Regions from separate parts of the Homo sapiens genome. Here region 2 is linked to region 1. Evidence: promoter capture Hi-C in 16 types of primary human blood cells and fetal thymus (Javierre and others, 2016). All regions are on one chromosome and are shown on one strand. The core of a region is centred on a gene start or on the middle of the fragment in contact, and the rest is flanking DNA. Distances in the headings are between cores, read along the strand shown. Region 1 holds the start of SERINC5 (serine incorporator 5). Region 2 holds the start of XRCC4 (X-ray repair cross complementing 4).

Evidence for each region. The method cuts DNA at HindIII sites, captures the fragments that hold promoters and counts their contacts. A CHiCAGO score of 5 or more calls a contact.
Region 2: a fragment that was not itself captured here is called in contact with the fragment with the promoter of SERINC5 in region 1 in 1 of 17 cell types (total B cells); the score reaches 6.4 in total B cells.

What each region holds. Positions count from the first base shown.
Region 1 is chr5:80,254,622-80,257,321 of GRCh38, reverse strand. SERINC5 (serine incorporator 5) reads left to right here and starts at 1,274. Exons shown (of 12, transcript NM_001174072.3): 1 at 1,274-1,426. The coding sequence starts at 1,400. RefSeq lists enhancers at 1-174, 175-1,108 and silencers at 962-1,401, 1,512-1,791. The HindIII fragment of the contact is 9,277 bases long and covers 748-2,700 here.
Region 2 is chr5:83,077,370-83,080,069 of GRCh38, reverse strand. It overlaps XRCC4 (X-ray repair cross complementing 4), which reads right to left and starts at 2,523. Exons shown (of 8, transcript NM_003401.5): 1 at 2,455-2,523. It overlaps TMEM167A (transmembrane protein 167A), which reads left to right and starts at 2,676. Exons shown (of 4, transcript NM_174909.5): 1 at 2,676-2,700. RefSeq lists enhancers at 1,629-2,594, 2,669-2,700, 2,595-2,700 and a silencer at 2,519-2,608. The HindIII fragment of the contact is 737 bases long and covers 956-1,692 here.

The sequences.
Region 1 (2,700 bases), core at 25-2,524:
GCCAGGGGATCAGACGAGTGGATTCCAGGCCCAGTTTTACTTCCTCAACTTTGCTGTGAGGCTTTGGGCAAGTTATTTAACCTCTCTGGGCTTCAGTTGCCTCACCGCTAAAATGGGTACGGTAATGCTTATTTGAAAGAGCAAAGGGATTGGCGCAAAAATCGCACTAACAGAAATATCTTCATTCCGGCAGGGCGCGGTGGCTCACGCCTGTAATCCCAGCACTTTGGGAGGCCGAGGCGGGCGGATCACCTGAGGTCAGGAGTTCGAGACCAGCCTGGCCAAGATGGTGAAACCCCGTCTCTACTAAAAATACAAAAAATTAGCCGGGCGTGGTGGCAGGCGCCTGTAATCCCAGCTACTCGGGAGGCAGAGGTTGCAGTGAGCCGAGATCGCGTCACTGCACTCCAGCCTGGGCGACAGAGTGAAGCTCCGTCTCAGAGAAAAAAAAGAAAAAAAAAAAAGAAATACCTTCATTCCTCTTGGGGAGGTGGCTGTGAGGACAGCAGATCTGAGTGGGAGAAAACCTAGAGACGGCCTCCCTGCCTTCTGTATGGAACAAGCAATTATTGGGCACCCTCTTTTTAGTGAGGAAGCAGGGACGGAAAATGAGTCCTTGGGCCAGCGCAGGAGGAGAGGCTGGAAAACATATCAATATTCAGGAAGGCACGGAAAGGGCTCTCAATGGATCTCTCACCAAGTGCCATCAGGGCAGAACAGTCAAGGGCCCAGGGATTCGAGGAAGCTTGGGAGGCGCGGAGAGCCCAAAAGTTGAAAGTTTTCTTGGCAGATGAGGGAAGGAAAGGGATTTCAGGAACAAGGATCTCGTGGGTGGGCTGTCCCAGTCGGCGCGCGGCAGAGCGCAGACCAGCACCCGGCGGTCTGGTCTGTGCAGGAAAGGCAGGAACCGCTTACTAAGGCTCCAACCTTTTAGAGGCAGCAACAAGCTCTTTCTCTGGATCCGAAGGCGGAGAGGCGCTGCGCTCTCATTTGGCGAGGGCCCGAGCGCGGCCAGACCGCGCACCAGACCCGGAGCGTGGGGCCCAAAGGCTGGCGGCCGACTCCGGAGCTCGGCGCCCCAACCGGGAAGTGATCGCAGCAGCCCACCCGCCTGACGCCAGCGGAAGTGCGAGCCCGGGTCGAGCCTGCTCCGCCGCCGGGCGCCCGGGAAGGGGCGGGCACGGGGCGGGGCTGGGGGCGGGCGAGGCGGGGCCGGCGGCGGGGCGGGGCTTGGCCGCAGTTGTTTTTACCCAGGCCTCGGCGCCTAGGCGCTTCGCCGAGGCTGATCTTCGTTCAAGTGTGAGCTGCGGCTGAGCCCAGCGCTCGAGGCGCGAGGCAGCCAGGAGGGCCCGTGCGGCGCGGGGAGCCAGCGAGCGCGCCTTCGGCATTGGCCGCCGCGATGTCAGCTCAGTGCTGTGCGGGCCAGGTGAGCGAGGCCGGGCGCAGCGCGGGGGTTGTCAGATCGGAGAACCGGGCCAGGAGTCCAGGCGTGGAGGACCTGCCTGGGTGCGCTCCCAGCTCCGCGGCCGAACGTAGGGCCCGGGTGGGTCGCTCGGGCTGGCCCCGCGGCGCTCAGCCGTCCGGGAAATCCTGTGCCCTGGGCGGGCGGGAAGGGGCAGGGGGAAGCCCGAGAGGCTACCCCGGGGTCTTCCCGTCCGGCCTCCGGGACTCCGCGTGGAGCGGGGCGTGCCGGGCTCGGGCGGAGGATCCCGACTGCTCCAGGGGCGTGTCGCCTCTTGCGCCGAGCACTGGTGAATAGCGCTGAGCTCCGTAGCCCTCTCCACTCTGCTTGTCGGATGAATCCAGGAAGAAAAGTGGGTTTAGGCACCGTCTCCTTTGCTATGCCCTGAATAAAACTCGGGTCAAACAACCCAGGCAGGTTGCGCTTGGCATCTCGTAGTCGAGCGTGGGCTCTGTACCTTTGAGAATGTCTCGAAGCCTGACTTCCAAACTACCGGGCGCAGGTCTGGGCGAAGGGAAAACTCAGCCCTGCTTCCTGAATTTCCCGACCCAACCCTGGCTCGGTACTAGCACGACTGCCTGGGTAGGGCTGGAACCTTCCTGCCTCTCTTTGCAAATAAACTTGTTCGAACCTGTTTTTTAACTCTCGCCTATTTAAACCTATGATGTCTTAAAACATTATGTCTCCTACCAGTTACTGCATCAGTGTAGAATTAGTACGTCTTAGCCCTGTAATGCTGGTTTCACTCCTTCCTGCAGAGTTAGAAAAAACGAAGTAGGTGAGTCTCTTGGATGTGGAGCTCTTTTCTCCCTTTACATGTGGATTATCAGCGTTTCGGTACAGAGTTTTAATGGAGTGTTTTCACGAACGAATCAGACTCTAGGGAGCATCCTGGTTCGGGGTGTTCTTGCTGACACTCAGCCTTTCCACAATCGAGGCCAGCTGTAAGTGATGGAGTGGTTAAACTGTGGGTTTCTGTAACCGGCGATTATACTGGCAGATAATCTGTCCTGTTTAGAGTGGCCACGTGGAGCTGTCTTGGTTTTTGAGGTCTAATACTGTGCTTGGCATACATTAAAGCTGGCCTTTTCAGAGTTGAGGAAATTGAGGCTTTTGACGACTGAGACGAAATGATTTTTTTTCCCTGTGTCAGGCAGAGAGAGAAAGAGAATGAGAATGGTCACCACCTTACCAGGTATTTGAGAACAAGGTGGACCAGGAAAGACTGTTTTCAGAAA
Region 2 (2,700 bases), core at 75-2,574, 2.8 Mb before region 1:
CCATGCACAGTAATAGCCAACACTTTCTGAGTGCTTACTGTATGCCAAACATTTGCCTAGATGATTTACTTGTAATAACTCATGTAATCCTCATAACACTGAGGACACCTGTGCACTGGCGCCACAGAAAACTACAAATATCCACTATTTTTACATACGATTTTAATATACCCATGAAACCAAAGTTGGAAATATTCTTCCAGATGCAGGTGAGATAATACTTTTTGAACAGGCCAGACGTGGTGCGGTGGCCTACACCTGTAATCCCAGCACTTTGGGAGGCCGAGGCGGGAGGATCACTTGAGCCCAGGAGTTTGAGACCAGCCTAGGCAACATAGTGAGCCCTGTCTCTACAAAAAATAAAATAAAATTAGCCAAGTATGGTGGCATGCAACCATGGTCCCGGTTACTGGGGATACTGAGGGAGGAGGATAGATCGCTTCTGCCCTGGAGGTTGAGGCTGCAGTGAGTCATGATTGTGCCACTGCACTCCACCCTGGGCAACAGAGCAAGATCCTGTCTCAAAAATAAAAATAAATAATAATTTTTGAACAAAGGAATAACACAGACAGATTTTATTTCTAGTAAGGAAAGGATCCAAGATGGTTTTAAATGAGGATTCACTGCAAAGCTGCCAGAAAGATTTTAGAAATTGTGATATAATCTGAAAACCAAAAAGTAGGGGGTTTATGTAAGACAATGGAGCTAAACTACCACCTCCCAAAAAAAACTCACCACGTCAGATTAACTTTGATGTTTTACATAAATGCAATAAACATTATACATATTTGTTCAGCCTCATTTATTGGCATATGTGTTTCTCTATAGATAACTTAAAAACTGGCAATGCCGTTCTTTACTGTTTTGAAGCTCAGGTACATAAGAAGTCATAGCCTAAAATTAATTAAAATATATAGATATAGCAAATCAATTGTGATCTCTAACAAGTTAAGCTTTCTGATGCTTTTCACAGGTAGCCTGAAGCAGAGCTTCATACAGAAGTATTACCTTTATATGTAACAAAGATCAAGACAATCTTCACATGAAACCAAGGGCAGTTATGTCTACAGACACATTTACTGCCCTAAAAGCCAAGCTCGATAAATTGCACAACATAATTTCCATAACTAAACCAGGTTTGTTTAATTTGAATGGCAAGACCTAAAAGGTATAATATAAAGGAATTACAAGACAGAACATTAAAAGACTTTTTTTATCCTTAGGTGGAGAGTACTGTATCTTTTAAATACCTTTCTTATTCCCCTCTCCCCCAACCTTATTAAATTCCTTAAAGGAACAGACCATCTTTGTTCCTATGCTGCAATCTGAAGATCCATGAATAAAGCAGGCACCCAGTAAATACTTGCTAATTTGTGTATTTGACCAACTCTTGACAATTCAATATAACAGACTCAAATATCAAGTTAGTTATAGTTTAAAACAAAACCTTTGTGTGCCCTAGTGAACAATGTAAACACAAATAGCAGAATCCCAAATCTTCTAATCATTGTGTTGCCCTAAATACAAAAGGGTCTCATAGGCCGAATACAGTTCATAAACCAAAATCTCACGTGAGTTACCTTCTCTCTTTCTCTCTATCCACCTTCTAAGTCCATAAAAAATTGAAAACATTCTGAAAAGAACTCTCTCCTGCCTGAGAAAAAATACACCACACATTTAGAACCAAAAGCTTGCCATAAGGGGGCAAAGAGTGAAAAACTCTCATTTCTAATACTTTATTAGAATTCCAAGAACTACGCAAATTCAAACATGTCAAAGCGCCTGTTTCTCCATCGATAAAATGCAGAAAGAAAAACGTGTGTGTGTAGTAGAACCTCACCTAATGGGATAATTAAAATCAGAAAAAGCTAAATACTACTACTGATTAAAAGTTGCCTTGTCATTTGTCTTGCCAGTTGATCTCTTTAAAGTACCTAATCAATCGCTGCAGTCCGCAAACGGCAGTTCCTTCCCATTGGTTACCACAGAAAGTTCTTTCCTGACCTCAAATTGCCTAGTACGTTTCAGCCTCGATGCCTGGTTGGAACCCACAGTTTACCAATATCTGGGGATTGAAAGGACAGGCCAGTGCTGGGGAAATGCTCAAACAGCCTACTCAACACTACCCTCTGGATTCAACCGTCCTCCCAATCCCACAACCAACACAGAGCATTTCAAAAGTGCTTCGCATTCCCAAGAATCCCTCAGATGCAAACGGAGAAACTGAAAAGGGGGTGAACAGGTCGCACCCTGAGGATAATGCCGAGAACCCTAGCATCCCCAAAAGCCCACAAGAGGAAGTCGCGGGAGCTCACAAATTGAGGGGGATTCTCGCATTGTGGAGTTCTAGGGGTAAGTAGCAGGGAACTTTTTTAAAAAGAAAGCAAAAAGATAAAAAGAACAGAACCTCAGATTTTTGTTATTTAAAGAGGCAGCCCCACTTCCGGATCCTACCTCTCCGTGACTCTACTTCCGGTATCTTCCAAAACGCCCGCTTTCACAGATCAAGGTTTTGCAACCAATGAGAGTATCAGCTACTTCCGCCGGCCTGCGGGACGTGATCTAAATCCCGCCTTTTCCGGTGGAGAGGAGCCTATCCTAGTGTCTTAACCGCCCGTCTTGGTAGGCGGTGCCGTGACAAGCCCAACCGGACGGCTGGAGAGGGCGAGAAGGGCAGACGGGACATGCAGCCTCTTCCGC